Linked DNA regions of Homo sapiens: region 2 is linked to region 1. The links are contacts of gene promoters, found by promoter capture Hi-C in blood cells and fetal thymus (Javierre and others, 2016). All regions are on one chromosome and are shown on one strand. Each heading gives the region's core, a stretch centred on a gene start or on the middle of the fragment in contact. The rest is flanking DNA. Distances are from core to core; before and after follow the strand shown.

Region 1 (7,820 bases), core at 2,732-5,231:
CCGCGGCGGCCCCCGTGGTGTGGAGTGCCCCTCAGTGCGGCGAGAGAGGTCCCGGCCTGAGATACATACTTCTTTACATTCCATAGCTTAGCAGGTCCATATGGGCATATAAAGAAGTATGTTTCCCAAGCAGGCAGTCTGCATGCAGTTCCAAGACCCCGGGACGCCGCCCCGGTAGAAGCTGACCCCACTGCGATGTAGAGAAGGCAGCTCAGAGGCAGTGTAACTTCTTCCCTGGAGTCTACTGCCGGAGCCCTCTCTGTGTGAGCAGGACAGCCTTCCTGCCACTGCTGCCTGGTGTCCAGCCACCCCCAGGGGCCCAGGACTCCCTGCCCCCTTCTGACCTCGGCGCCCCTCCATCCCTGAATCCATCTCTCTCTGTCTGTCTCACACACTCACACGATCCAGAAAGGCAGAAGTGGACAGTGAGCCCCAGAAAGTCTCGAGCGCCTGTCCCTGGCCCCAGCAGTAGCTCGGTTTTGCGTCCATGGAAGAGACAGGCTGCCCCTCCACCCTCACCCCAGAGCAGGGAGGCATCATCCATGTCCCAAACTTTCAAAGCCAACACTTTCCTGTCCCCCTGGGTCACCTCATCCCAGCCAAGCCCAGAGAGGGCTGGGTGGAGAGAGGAACCTTGGGGGGCGCCCTGCCCAGCACCCCACTCGCAGGACCAGCCTCCTCCTTCTCCGGGAGCTGGACAACTCCTTGCTCCTGAGGCCAGACGAGGAACTGCAGACCAGAGACCCGAGAGGTGTCCTGGGGGCTTACCTGGGCATCTGCTGGTTTCCTGGGCAGGTCCCTGGTGAAGGCTGCCTCCCGGGACCCCGTATCCATGAGGAAGGGCTCAGCACCTCTCTCCGAAGATGCAGGCGAGAAAGACGATGCTTGGAGGAGTCCAGGTTCCCAGAGGGTGGTCAGGATCTCCTGAGAGGCCGTCCACTAGGGGGGCAACTCCCTAGGTGCCTCAGCCTGGCCACAGCAGACACCCAGTGGGCGAGGGAGCGTCGCTCCCCCGGTTCTCTCCCTCCTTCTCTCGCTCTTCTTCACCCTCTCCCCCGTCCCCGCCTCGCAGCGTCACCACCCTGAACCGCCGCGCAGTGCGGCCCACCTGAAGCGGCAGCTGCGCAGAGCCAGCAGCTTACATGGGCACCGGGGGTCAGCAGCCACCGTCACCTGCCCAGCGCCACTGCCGTGGCACCCCCGGGAGGCTGGTCCCACACCTGGCTCTTTGTGGCCAGCCGCCCAGCCTCCACCAGCCCCTGATCAATACCAATTTACAGTCAAATGCAGGGGGCCGCCTTCCTGTTAATGAATTTCCCGGTGCTCACCAGCTCCTAATGAGCCTGTTAAAGAGGGTTTAAGTAAACTTAGCGAGTGGCAAACTAAGCACTTTGGAATACTTAATTGTATCGATATGTTTTTCATTGCGTTTAAAAATGTCTCTGAGTGGGAAGCAGAGGCTGCCTCCTTCCCTGCCAACTTCTATGACCAGCCGTGAAGCCAGACTCTGAAAAATGTGGAGAAAGAGCCAGAAGGAGACCAATGGGACCTCAAGGTTAGGCCCTCACCAGCAGGAAGGGAAGCCGCCCCGAACCTGCTGGGAGCGGGGAGAGGAGGAGGAGGAGGAGGAGGAGGCCTGCAGGGTTTCGAGGCCTCGCAGTGGCCCAGGGCGAGCCTGGCACGTGCGGTGGTGAGAGGTGGAAAGAAGGCTTTGCAGGTGCCTGGGGGGGACGGGGGCCAGGGAGGCGCCAGTTGGGGGTGCAGGCCGGGCACAGACACAGGAGGCTTGCTAAGCGGTGGGGTCCAGCTGGGCCCTGGCCCCTGTCCTGCCACTGACCCTGGCGTGGGGTGGGACAGCAGCCCCGGGACATGAAAGGACCTCCCGTTGTCCTCATCAGGAAGAGAGGTCCAACATGACTCTGTTGCTCCTCCAGGCAGCCCGTCCATGCGAGGGGACAGCCCGGAGCGAGTTGGTTCTCTCTTACCACCCAGGGCAGGGCAATGTCTCCGCAGAGCCTGCAGTGTGCAGAGGCCACTGAGCATGCTGTGGCTGTGTGGCAGTGGGTCTGCAGCTGGGCATGGCTGGGTTGGAGTTTCACGTGGGGGTGGGTGGGGGCGGGGGGTGGGGGTTGTGCTTAAGGCTCTGGAGGCATCCCCTCTACAAAGGAAGGAGCAAATGGCAGACAGAAGCAGAAGCTGATGTCCCATTTCCACGTAGCTGCTGTGATTTATCATTTTCACGTAGCCAAGGATACAAAAAGGGCACCCGACACCGCAGCCTGAGCTTCAACTTCGGGGGCACCTGGGTTCCGCCGCTCATCTGTGCCCTCCCAAGACCTCCGCAATAACCGTCCCCGGAGTCCAGGGAAAAGGCCTCCTCAACGTCCCCAGCTCCCTGGCACATGAGCTCTCAGAGCCTGGGACACTCCCGCAGCCTGGCTCAAGCCCCCACGACCTGTGAGGCATTCATCTGGACGGGGTCTGGGGGTCAAGGGGAAAGCTGGGAGTCCCAAAGGGCAGGAGAGTCACCCCAGACCCAGCCAGAGTCCACAGGACTTCTGCCCACTCACAAATGAATTGTAGTCACTTTTCAAAAAGTTTCCCGTCTGCATAGAAAAAGAGCACCCAGCCGCCTCCAAGCAGACCCCACCGTGAGCCGAGCTGGCTCCTGTGCCCGGGGCCTCCTCCGGGGCTCTTCAGCGGTGAATACCGCCCGGCCCCCGGCATCAGCGCCGCGGGAGGCCACGCGGGAAGTCAAGCTCCCCAGCAGGGACCTGCACAGACGCCGACCACCAGGGCTGCTCTCCCCGAAGCCCCCCTAGTCTCCGCCCACATGTGCCCCCCGCCCCCCACCTCGCCGCCCTGCCCCTGTAAACGCCTCCTGACCCTGACGTGGCTGGGAGAGCTGCAGAAGTGCCGAGTCCCGGCCGGGGGCAGCCTCGCCGCCGCTCAGCTCGGGAATCCCTGCCCCCCACCAGCACCTCAGTGGGGGATACTGCAAGTTCAAGGTAAGTTTAGCCCCACGCCCGGCTGCCGGGGCTTTGTTGCGGAGCGGCAGGTGAATCGCGCCCCCAGCCCAGCCCCGAAGCCCCCATGCCATCCACTGCCCGCGTGGGGGGCCGCTGCTTTCTTGCAAAATGCCCGCAAGTCAAAGTTCCTGCCTCCCAGCTGGACGCGCCCTCCAGGCCCTGCCGGCTGCTGGCTCTGCAGTTTTCCAAATGTGGATGATGCCGCGAGCCAAGAGAAAACTCCACGGCACCCCCGCCGGAGCCGCACGGCGCCGGCACCCGCAGCACCCACCTCGCTGGCAGGCACACCCCCCACCGCGGTGCCCGGCAAGTTTGCAGGGGCCGTCCCGGCGGCCCAGCGGTGGTGATGGGCTGAGCAGGACTCACCGCGGAGCCCAGGGCACCCCTGGGGCCGGGCTGGTGACAGCGGCAGCGGCGGCGGGCGCAGGGTCGCGGCTCCCTAGGAGATGCTGCAGCGGCGGCAGCACCAGCCACCTCCTCCGGGAGCCAATCGCGAATGCAGGGGTGGGGGCCGAAGCTCGATGCGTCCGCACTTGGTGGGGGCAGAGAGAGAAAGAAGACACCAGGCACCCCCTCTCCACACCCCTGCCCTTCCCCCAGCCCTCCTGCAGCAGCGCAGACTTAGCAGGAGGGAGATCTTGAGAGAGAGAGAGAGAGAGAGAGAGAGAGAGAGAGAGAGAGAAGGCGCTGGTGCAGAGTTAGGGAGAGGCGGCCGAGCTGCACACCTTGAGCCCCGGCCTCCTCCGAAGGGAACCCCTGCACCCCAGCGGGGTCAGCACAAGGTAGAGAAGGTAGAGGTCAGGGTGGAACAAAAGGGAAGGTCCCGCGGGTGTGCACGCTCTCGCAGGCACACAGCCGGCTCGCGGAGACACAGGGGCGGGGGAGGGGAGGGGAGGGGAGGGGAGGGCCTGACCTGAGAGGCCAGAGCGGGCGTGGGGGCCCCCCTCGGGTCAGGAGCCGGCCTCACCTTTGCAGTTCTTATATACCCGGCCAAGCATCCCAAACACGCGGCCCTGGCCAAGTGGCCCCCTCGGGCTGCGCTCCCTGACCATATTTAGTCAAGCAGGGGAAAAAATAGCCTGTCAGCTGGGCCGCGGCTGGCCCGGCCACCGGGAACAGGGTGGGAGCACCCACGCCATTGACGGCGGGTCCCGGGCTCAGGCTGCTGTCCTGCCCCTCCCGGCCCCTCCCTGACAGGCCTCCCACCGGCTGTCCCTGCCCGAGATCCCCCCGCTATTTTTAGCCCAGCCAGTACAGAGGCGCCTCCTCAGTAGCCGGGCAGCAGCCTCCATGCCATGCCAGCCGGCTCCTAGGGTGCCCTGGGGAGACCCGGGCATCTCCCAGGCTGCAGGGCCGGGGGTGGGGGGGGCGGGCAGAATGGTACGGCCTCCTTCGCTGCTCTGAGCCTCCAGTGGGCTGAGCCCACCCAGGCCACCAGGAGTGGGTGGCCCCCTCCACAGTCCCATCGGCTCTGCCCTTTTGCCTAGAATTGGGGCCAGGATCAGGTGGTGACAGAGCCACCTGGGTTTCCGGAGACTCTCAAGCCAACCCCAAGTCATGACAAATGCCAGTCGCCTTGGACAGAGGCAAGGTCAACCTGCTTGCCGCCCCCAGCCAGGCCCTGCCACCAAGGGTGTGTGATGGGGAGACCCCAATCCCGGGTGCTGGACGGGCTCAGGAGCTCCCCCTTCCGGGATTTCACGCCCGAATTATGTAACAGACGAGGGCCTGGGACGGGGCCTGACGGGGATCTGTCCTTGCAGGGCCTGGACGCAGAGACCAGAGGCCTGAACTGGCAGACTGTCCTCACAGGCTGTGTGACGCTGGCTGGTCGTCCCATCTCTCTGGGGCCCCACAGGACTGGGGACCAGGTCGTGGAATGACAGTGGACCACAGTGGTCCGGGGACCCCGCTCGTTGGTGGCAGGCACAGGCCCGTGTGATGGGGACAATGAGCTTTGGTATTTGTGAGTCCTGTCCAGAGCATAGGTCCTCCTGTTCAGAAGCCACCTCATAAATGTCCCCAGTGCCTCCCGGACTTAGGAAGGCATCCCCTTGTGGTTCTGGCCAGTTAGGGACACAGGGCCGGGGAGTCTATGCCGCTCAGAACAGGCTCAGCTGCATCTAATCCCAGGGGAGCCCCTGAGGAGCCTGCACACCCCCCAGGCTGGCCCACAGGAGCTGAGGCAGGGCTCTCCTCCAGGTTCACCTCCTGGGCTCACGGCCCCTTCCCCACATCCCAAGGCCGGCTCTGCAGAGTCATGGGGAGAAGCCGGAGCCCCAGCCACACTCGCCACACACGCCGACACCCACTCTGGTGTCCTCCGGCCAGCGACAGCGAGGGACAGAGGGACGCCCCCTGCACCTGCCCAGTGCAGAGGCTTCTTGAGTGATGCCAGGCCCTTCTCCCAGCCCTGTACGCCCCGCTAAAGACCCCATGTCTCACCATAAAGGAGGCCAGGAGGTTTTAAGCTTCTACCTGGTCTGAGCACTTTTCTGGAAACTAAATAGCCACTCGGCTTCCCACTGGCAGCGGGAGAGCGTGGTGTGAGGTGTGGTGTCCAAACTCCCCCTGCAAGGCCCCTCCCCTGCAGCCCACTTCCTCCTGCCTGCCGTCTCCAGGCAGGGTTGAGGGGGGCAGGCCAGGCCTGCAGCTGGGGTCAGGGGCATAGACAGCCACAATGGGGGAGGTGGGGAGCAGTCTGCAGGCCTGGGCAGGCGGCTCTGTAAAGGATGCGGGTGCTTTGTGGTGGTGAGAGAGAGGGTATGCAGCAGACGTGGCCATAAATCACCCTCCTCACGGCAGCCCCACACCCACGGACCAGGGCACGGGCACAGGGCCATCTCCTTCCAGGAGAAGGGCTGGTGTGGGTGGCCAGATCTGACAGCCCCCAGGCCGTAGGACAGAGCCAGAAGACAGAGCAGTTCCCCCGTTTACCCATAGCACCAGCCTCACAGTAACAGCCGGCACACAGCACTTAGGCTGCCTGGTGTTCCAGAAGCTTCTGCAGGGGCTCTATGCTGCACTCAAGGCATCCCTAAGAGGAGAGCATTTTGCTGTCCCCACTTTACGGAGAAGGAACGTGGGCTCAGGGTGGGTGCCTCACTCTCCCAAGGTCCCATACCAAGCACTGATCGGAGCTGGGTGTGTTCTGGCCCCCACCATGTCCACGGCTGTCCTCGCCAGGGCAGTAAAGTCAGAGCCCATAGCCCTCGCCCCTGACGGCCCAGGGCCGTGCTGCCCGTGGCCCACTCCACCATGATTTGAAAGGGAGACCGCAGTGGGTAGGAGAGACGGGAGGGAGGGGAGAGGGGAGAGAAGGGGGAGACGGGGTAGAGGGGGCAGAAGGGGAAGAGAGGGGAGAAGGGCCTAGGCCCCCGAGACTTTCCCCTTGGTGTCTGCAGGTGGTTTAAGGCGTGAATGAATGAAGGAGCAAGCAGTAAGCCCCGACAGCAAGGCCACCACAGCCCTCGCCCCACAGGGACGCCTGAGCAAGGACCCAAGCAGGGGACAAGCAGGCTCACCCCGCCCTTGCGGGGCTGACCACGAGGCCCCGTCCGGTGGAACACGCCATGACGGTGAGTGCTCTGCCCTGTCTCACACGGCTCCCACTGGCCACGGTGGCTGCCAAGCTCTCAGAAACGGGGCTGGTGCCCCTGCAGACCTGGATTTTTTAGTCAGTGCAGCTTTGATTTGTTTCAGCTTCAGGAGGCTCATGTAGCTGGCGCCGTATGGGACAGCGGGGGAGAGAGAAAATGCACAGCCCAGGGAATGTGGAGACAGGCCCAGCGCCAGGCATGGGGGCCGGAAGGAGCAGCCGGGGAGCAGGGGGCAGGGCCTGGAGTCCCGCCTTGCAGGTCAGAGGTCAGAGGTCAGGGAAGGCCTGGGTGGGGGTGAATGAACAGGCCCCCCAGTGATGTCAGAGGGGCAGGCGGGGAAGGGTCCCGGAAGAGCACCCCGGGGAGTGTGTACAGGAAGGCAGGAGCCCGGAGGCGGGAAGGGGGGCCTGGTGTGTCCAGCGGGCAGCAGGAGGCCAGCATGGCTGCCACTGGGGCAGTGGCAGTGGATGGGTGGCCTGGGGCTGGGCTTCGGGCAGGGTCAGACCACGTCAGGCCTTGTAGGCCAGTGCCAGGGCTGCAGGTGTCCTGCTGAGGGGCACAGGCCTGGGCAGGCTGGCACGGCTATAGCAGGGTCCTTATGGCTTATCTGCTGAGGGTGAGGGTGGAGGGCAGAGGCTGGAGCATCAGGGGCCCTGCCCAGCTGCGGTGCCCTGGGGAGGGCTGCCCAGCTCTGGCTGTGCCTTGAAAGTTTGCCCGAAAGATTCACTGTTGGAGCAGATGTGGTCACAAGAGCAAGGGGGGATGTCAGATGGCCTGGGCCCTGAGGAACAGAGTGCATCCCTAGGAGGGGGACGGCCCGTCACCAGGGAGCCTTCTGAGACCATTTTGTAGGTGGGGAAACTGAGGCTCAGGAGGAAAAGCCAGTTGCCCAGCACGCGAAGACCCAGAGCCTATCTTCCTGCCCCTACATCCTTGTCTGTCCCCAGATCTGAACCTGCCCCAGCCCCAGGACTCTGAGTGCAGCAAGAGGGGAGCCGGGCTGGAGAGTGGGGAGCACGGAGACTGTGGCCTGGATGGTGCCAGAGCAAACAGGAGAGAGGCTGCCCAACGCAGAGGCTGCAGCACAGACCAGAGGGTCCCGGGGCTGACTGGGTGGGGGCAGCTCCCAGCGAGAGGCCCCTGGGATTTGGGTAAGTAGAGGCACATGCAGACTCTGGCCACAGGGCACCTC
Region 2 (7,820 bases), core at 1,465-3,964, 120 kb after region 1:
CATCTTAAACCCTGAGCAAAGCCTTGGCAGATCCTCACCCTGGGTGTGCCCGTGTCCCAGGGGTCCTCACGCAGGCACAATGGGGCAAGAGAGAGCTGCAAAGAGCCCTCAGGCCCCGAATTCCCCACTGACTCCAGCACAGAGCACAGCCGTGGGTAAGGGGCACAGCCAGCGAAGAAAAGGGATCAGTCCATCCCTCGCCCACAGGCGCATTCACCCAGGTCAATCCATCCCTCGTCCACAGACGCTCATCAGCGCCTGCTGCACGCAGATTCCAGGGTGGAAGGAGCTGGTCCCTGGGTCTGGGGGACTCGGCCCCACATGTGGTTGCATGGCTCAGGCCAGGACCTCGCCCCTGACACCCCAGGCATCCATGGTGCCATCCACGGTGCCATCCACGGTGCCTTCCACTGCCCCTTCACTTGCTCCTTTTCCAAGGGTCATTCAAGCCGATCTGTCACATAAAAATTTAAACCTGCACCAGAGGAAATTGTCATCCGACAAGGAGCATGTGGCAAGCCAGGAGGATTTCCTTCTGGAAAGGGCTTGGGTGAGACCGAGTCCTCTGGGTGTCCCCATCCACGCTCCCTGATCATGCCCCAAAACAGGAGGGCCTGGGCTTCCTGGAGGCCCTGTTCCTGCCATGTGTCCCACTGCCGAGCCATGCAACTGTTTGGACAACCCCAATGCCCTCGTCCTCTATCTCGGCTTTCCAAACCCTTCCCAAGGAGGAAGCTTCTAACTGAGCCGAAGGTTCACACAGAGGCTGCCAGAGCTGGCCAAGTTCATCAAAGCCAGGCGGCCCCTCCCCCGCCATGTCCCCATCCAGGACTCTGGCTCGGGCGGTGACGGATACTTCAGTCTCCCTTCCCACATCCTCATCATTTAACTTTCTTTTAGGCCATAAAATTCTGACTTTTAATATTTTCAACTCTAGTTTCTCATAAAACAACAATATTAGTATTTCTTTAAAGACACATAGACCATTAATGTATCTTTATGATGTGCGTGGGATCTGTGATGTATGGACCGTGCCTCCCCGACACCAGGCTCCTGGCCACAAGGCACAGGTTATGACATCTCGATCTGACACAGTCTCCGTGTGCTGCAGGACGACGCGGTTTTATTATCTGTGACGTGCCAGCAGACAGCCCAGCTCAGTCCGGGGATCGCTCCCATCACAGACACCTCCTTGTCCCTGCTCCGGCCTGCCCTCCAAAATCACGGATCAAGTTATCCCGACCGACAGAGATTTATGGTCCCATTTTACTCTCGTTAAATTCCCACAGCTCAAGGAAGCTGAGGCCACTCCGTGCAGACGCCCGGTCTGGGAGCGCTGCCACAACTGTTTCTAGCCAGGGAACAAAGTCAGCAGAGAGGAAGTCCAGAAGCACTGGCCAGGCTCGAGGTGGCCATCGCTGCCCCGTGGCAGCCCCTGCCAGCCTGAGCCATCATCCCTCCTCTGTCCGGCCCGTCTGCCAAGGCTGGCACTGCCCTGGAAAATGGTGACAAAATAAGAACCATCTCAGGAGTGTCGCTAGGACCCTCAGTGAGTGGCACAGCCCTGGGCCCTGGCACAGAACCCCTCTCATTTAACCCACACCCTCCAGGAGAGAGGCACCAAGGCAGCCCCACTGTCTCAAAAAGGAAGCTGAGGTCAGAGGTCAAAATGGCCCGGGGTACCCGCTGGTTCACCCCCAGGCACCTCTGCCCCCTCCCCGGAGCCTCCACCCCACACATCCCAGGCAAGAGCCCAACCAGGACTTGGCCTGGGAAGACCCCTCCCAGCCATCCCCCCAGTTCCACACACAGGGTCCCCATTCCACAGGTACCCTCATTTTCATAATATTTAACAAAGGTATAGGAACAAATAGTTTAGCCAGAGTAAAAGGCTTCTGTCGGCTCTTTAGGAAACACAGCCCTCCCCTAAACCACTCCCCAGTTCTCACCAAGCAGGGCCCATCCCGTCTCAGCCCAGAGGAACCTTTAGGCTTTGCCTCTTAGCACTTGAGTTTTCTGGGTAAGACACAACCCACCAGGGCCAGGCACGGTGGCTCACACCTGTAATCCCAGCACTTTGGGAGGCCGAGGCGGGAGGATCGCTTGAGCCCAGGAGTTCAAAATCAGCTTGGGCAGAAAAGAGAGACCCCCATCTCTACAAAACATTTTTAAAAATTTAGCCAAGCATGGTGGCGTGTACCTATGGTCCCAGCTACTCAGGAGGCTGAGGTAGGAAGATAACTTGAGCCCAGGGGTTCAAGGCTGCAGCAAGCTATGGTCTTACCACTGCACTTCAGCCTGAGCAACAGAGCAAGACCCTGCCTCAGAGAAAAAGAAAGGAAGAAATGTTTATGAAGTACCACCATATGCCAGGGGCCAAGACAGCAATGAACGGGCAAACACTTCCTGTCTCAAGAAGGTAGCACCCTGAAGACCCCTGAGCCAATACACAGTTTCTACCCAAGACTTGCATCTTACAGGCCTGTTGGGAAAAGGCCTGACCTACCTACAGTCATGGAGGGCTTCCCTGCAGAGGGGTGCTTGGATGCCCAAGAGCTGGCTGGGAGAGGGAGGGGAGCAGCCACAGGGGACTCCAGTCCGTTGGGGATCTGTGGGCCGGTCCAGGAGGGATCAGACCCTAAGGCTCTGAGGAGGCTGATGGCTGTCCTCACCTCGGTGGCAGATGAAGGTCTCAGGGAGGGGTCCACTCACCCCAGCCTGGGCCCCGTGTGCTGCTGTGTCCTATCTTTAGAGCAATCTGATGAGGCGGAGGCATAGGCAAACCCTTACAGGACAGAGGCCGGAGACGGGCACCATGCCCAGGTCTCCCTACCAGGCCCATTCTCCGGCCACACCTTGGGACCCTGGAGCCGATTCCACCCCACACTCTCACAGCCCCAAGAGTAAGGGACTCGCCTGCCTCACCCTAATCCTGTCTTTATATAAAACTTGGTTATTTGGTTCATTGTGAATTTTTCCCATTAATTTAGACTTCTTAAAAATACTACAGTGGCTGGGCGCGGTGGCTCACACCTGTAATCCCAACACTTTAGGAGGCCAAGGCAGGTAGATTACCTGAGGTCAGGAGTTCAAGACCAGCCTGACTAATATGGTGAAACGCCGTCTCTACTAAAAATACAAAAATTAGCTGGGCGTGGTAGCGCATGCCTATAGTCTTAGCTACTCCGGAGGCTGAGACAGGAGAATCACTTGAATCCTGGAGGCAGAGGTTGCAGTAAGCCGAGATCGTGCCACTGCACTCCAGCCTGGGCAACAAGAGCGAAACTCTGTCTCAAAAAAGTAAACGAAAGTTAAACTTAGGGTTACCATAAGCCCCATCAATTGCACTCCTAGATACACACCCAAGAGGACTGAGGACAAGTGTTCAACCAAAATCTCGCACACGCATGTTCACAGCAGGACTATTCACACCAGTGGAAATGTGAGACCACCAAGTGTCCGTCAGTTGATGACTGTGGTCCAGCCGTGCACTGGAATATTATTCAGCTTCAGCCAGGAACAGGAGCGAGACCCAGCTGAATCTTCGAAATATCGTGCTCAGAGAAACAGGCCAGACACGAAGAGCCAAATGCTGTTTGATTCTATTTTTATGAAATGTCCAGAATAAGCAAATCCATAGAGACAGTGACTGCTGCCAGGTACAAGGCTTTCTTGGAGGTGATGAAAATGTTTTGGAATCCGATCACGATGATGGCGGCACAAACTTGTGAATGTACGAATGACACGGAGCGGTTCACCTTAAGAGGGCTGACACTCAGGCAGGTGCTTACATAGAGAAGCATCCAGCAGGAAGCATGCTCACCCCAAGCAGCGGCTCACCTGGGGAGGGGATGAGACGCGACAATAAAAGGAGACTTTGGTCTTATTTGTCATGTTTAGTGCTTCGCAGGAGGGGGCAGGGGGCATCCTTGCAGTTCTTGTATTAGCAAAAAGTAATTTTTAAAAGAGGGTGCCTACGTTATCTTAAGTGAAACAACTCGGACAGAAAGACAAATACTGCAGGTTCTCACTCACAAGGCGAAGCTAAGTCACGTGTGCTCATGGAGCAGAGTGTGGACAGACGGACAACGGGGCCTCGCAGGGTGGAGGGAAGGGAGGATGGGTGGCTGCTCGGGGGTGCCGTGTGCATTGCACCCTCGACCGATGCACAGAAGGCCCTGACTTCACACAGTACAACGTCTCAATGCAGCATCATCGTACTTAAACCCCATGAAGCTATACAAATAAAAATCATGAGAACATAAAATAGGGTGACTAGCAGTGAGACCATGTGGAGGAAAGACGGGGGGCTTGATCCTTCCCCCCACCAAGAAAGCCTCCGCCCTCCCAAGTGCCCAGGCAGGGCCCACATCTGCACCCCTCCTGCCCAGTGCAGCCTGGCCCCATGGGCACACAGCACCCGCCATCAGGATGCCCCCCAGCCGGGCCAGCAAGGGCTTGTCTGCAGGGAGGGTGGGGATGGGCCCCGGTTGTCACAGAAGGCAGTCCCATTCCTGCAGGGCCGTGCTAATAGGTGACCCATTTATCTGGGGGCCAGGGCTGCAGGGCTGGCCTGACCTGGCCACTGCACTGGCCACCCCACCCTTTATCTATCGCTCCAGTAACACAAATACCAGGCAGCAGGGCCGGCTTTTAAAGGTGCGTTTTACAGCGAGATGCCTTTGAAGCTTATCTCCCACCCCTCCCAGCTCAGAGATAAAAGGCTGCCTCACCTCTGGGGTGGGGCATTGGGCCCCCATCTGGCCTAGGAAGCAGGTGTAGGGGGCCATGAAGAGCCCTCTTGGTCCCTCACCCCAGGCCCAGCAGCCCCAGCCCCTCAGGTGCAGGTGGGGGTGGCTGCCAGGGCTGGGAGGCCACACACACACTTGGGGCCTCATTCCTCAGCTGTATAATGGGGCGATGGAGCAGCCCCCACGCTGAAACCTGGCCACGGTTTGCCAGCAGCGTGTTGAGGCCTTGCTGCCTCATTCTGCAATGCTTCCTGCGAGCCCGGACGCCGGTGCCTGGGTGTCCATCACACCCCCCAGCTCCTGGCTGATCAGGATTCAACAGACATCGGCTGAATGAATGAACAGGTGAGTGGTACCAGGAGAGGAACCCCTTTCACCCTCATCAGCCCTGCAAGGGACAAGTAAACTGAGACTCAGACAGTGCCCTCTGTGTGCCCGATTCTCACAGCCAAAAGCCCCGTAAATGTGTGAGTCACGTTCTTGGCCATCCATGTGCCCAGAGCCTGGACAGGGCCTGGTGGGCAGCCAGGAAATGGGTCTTGGATGGTTGCATGAATGAACAAAGGGGCACACAAACCCACGGCTGCAGAAGGACGCCGACCTCCAGCGACATTCGACCTCCTCCTCCTCTCCCAGCCTTCCCTCCTTCTCTGCCCACAGTGCAGGTGCAGTGCCAGGGGGCCGACGATGTTGCCTGGAGTTCAGGGTAGGAGGCTGCTGGCCTGGGGTTGCCACCTTCTCCCTGGGGACCCAGCCACAGGCACAACCTGCACGGGCACCTCTGTCCTGTATCACCAAGGCCTGGACATGGCGGGGTGGGGTCCCTGGCCAATGAGCCAGGGCAGGCAGGCACGAAAACTGGCTCAGTCCAGGAGGTCGCTTGGCTTTGCTCAGGGAGGAACTCAAGGTCGAGCCGGTGGTGTTAGACAGCAGCTTTGATTGAAACAGCCATGCATGGCAGATGCAGAGGGACCCCTCCTTGTGAGGCAGGGCTCCCCACAGGCAGTGAGCCCAGAGCTCACATTCATACCTGGAGGCTGCAAGTTCAAAATCAAGGCACCAACTTGTTCCACGTCCGGAGAGGACTCACTTCCCGGTTCATAGACGGCACCATCTCGGGTCCTCACATGGTGGAAGGGGCAAGGGACCTCCCTGGAGCCGCTTGTAGAAGGACACTGATCCCCCAGCAGAGCTGCAGCCTCACGAACTTGCCATCTCCCAGAAGCCCCGCCTCCTAACATCATTGCCTGGGGCGTTAGGATTTCAACGAGAATCTGGGGTAGACACAAAAAACATCCAGACCACAGCACAAAGCAGCTACACATGTCCACGCACACATGTGCACACACACACGTGCAACACATGCACACACAGGCACACACATGTAAGACATGCACACACATTCGTATCCCCACACACACACACACACACACGTGCACACAGTCCCCACACAGGCACACACAAAACACACGCCAGCAGCAAGCAGACCCCACTCACAAAGGGCCCAGCCAGGAACAGGGAGGTGGCCGGAGGAGGGGCCTCCACGAAGTTCCCAGGCCAGCCAGAGCTGGAGTGGCCCATGCTGACCACAACCCCCTCCCAAGAGCCTGGTCCTGAGTGGGAGGGCATCGTGGGGCCAGAGATGACCCAGCCCTCATCCCAAACCCAGAGCTGGCCACCAGCCACCAGCAGGGGCCCTGCCAGGGAGCAGGAAGTCCGTCCTCCCCTCGCGGCAGCGGCTACAGGCCAGGCTCCCAGGCTTCCTCCTCTGAGCCCCGTGCATTCCTGGGGTACTCGGGTGCGCTGGGGATCATGGCCCCAAGGACTCGGGAACCCCCGCTCTGCTTCCGTGCAGAGCTAAGACAGGCTGAGGATGAGGCAGAGGCGGAGGTGGAGGCGGGGAGGAGGGAGTGGGGAGGGGTCGTGGGTAGGACACAGGGGGCAAGGCATGAGGGGGTCAGGGCTGTACCCCGCAGCCACAGTGTTGCTGTCCAGGGAACACACACGAGACCACAGTGTGAGGCTGCTCCAGCACCTGGGCCGTGCCACCCGGGGCCAGGCCAGCCCCCAGCCTATTTGCCCCCCTGGGCTCCACCTGGCCGGGGGCACCCAGCCTACCTGGAGACTGGAGAAGCCCACTCACAAGCACTCACAGACCCCGGGCAGACTGCGCAGACCAGAGGCCCAGCATGCGCCCAGTCCCCCTCAAGCAGAAGGCCTGCTTCCCCAGGCAGGGCGGGGCAGGCTGGGCGGGTCGCTTCCCATAGCAGCTGCTGGATTTCTGTCCACTGGGTTCTGGCAGGGACAGCTCTTGAGCTTATTATCCCCAATTTACAGACAGGGAAACCGAGGCCAGAAAGGGGACTGTCACCTACCTATGGTCAGCCCACGGTGAGCTGAGCTGTGAACAGCAGGAAGGACCACTCTGTGTCAGAGGCCCTACCACCTGTCCCGAGGTGGCGAGACAGCACATTTGCTCACTCCCACCTGCAGCCCCCGACCCAGGCACCCCTGCAAGCCCCCCACCCTTCCCCGCCCGGGCCCTCCGTGTCACAGGCACCAAACTGGATTCTCAGTGCTAACCAGCTTGGCTCCTGCAGCCCAGCCTCACAGTGATTATGAGGAAACAATCCCAACTCTATGTGGCTTCAGACCCAACCTGTCCGGCCACTTTCTGCGAGATGGCAGAACCCGCCTGGCGGCTCAGGGCAGTCTCTGCCTCCTTTCTGCTCCTGGCTGGGAGAATCGAAAACCTGTCAAGCGGGTTTGGCCAAAATCCTGTCTTGTTGCCTGTGCAGGTTCACAGCCCGCTCACTTCTCTCTCCCTGTGAAGAGCGTGGGGGACTCCGCGCAGAGGTCGACAGAGGTTGAGGCAGGGCCAGGAGCCATGTGAGTACCCGGGACCCCGGGGCCAGGCCACCCAAGTAGCCGGGTGAGCTGGGATCCCTGGCTGGGGTGCTCACCAGGGAGGCTGGAGGCCCAGCTTGGACTCCTGCGAGGAGAGCCGCGGGGGTGGGTGGGACTGGACGTCTTCCCTAAGGGGTGGCACAAGGCTGCTCCTGGTCCAGG

What was found. The method cuts DNA at HindIII sites, captures the fragments that hold promoters and counts their contacts. A CHiCAGO score of 5 or more calls a contact.
Region 2: a fragment that was not itself captured here is called in contact with the fragment with the promoter of MIR1-1HG in region 1 in 1 of 17 cell types (M1 macrophages); the score reaches 6.6 in M1 macrophages.

Annotation. Positions count from the first base shown.
Region 1 is chr20:62,546,614-62,554,433 of GRCh38, reverse strand. MIR1-1HG (MIR1-1 host gene) reads right to left here and starts at 3,981. Exons shown (of 4, transcript NR_171007.1): 1 at 3,396-3,981; 2 at 769-969. It overlaps CRMA (cardiomyocyte maturation associated lncRNA), which reads left to right and starts at 2,873. Exons shown (of 7, transcript NR_033263.1): 1 at 2,873-3,008; 2 at 5,973-6,122; 3 at 6,434-6,607; 4 at 6,732-6,886; 5 at 7,576-7,820. It overlaps MIR1-1 (microRNA 1-1), which reads right to left and starts at 128; the gene lies at 58-128. RefSeq lists an enhancer at 3,019-3,894. The HindIII fragment of the contact is 7,236 bases long and covers 1-5,502 here.
Region 2 is chr20:62,427,280-62,435,099 of GRCh38, reverse strand. LOC105372710 (a long non-coding RNA gene) reads right to left here and starts at 7,270. Exons shown (of 4, transcript NR_187662.1): 1 at 7,127-7,270; 2 at 5,782-6,025; 3 at 4,036-4,236; 4 at 3,591-3,840. RBBP8NL (RBBP8 N-terminal like) reads left to right here and starts at 7,561. Exons shown (of 14, transcript NM_080833.3): 1 at 7,561-7,640. The HindIII fragment of the contact is 3,953 bases long and covers 738-4,690 here.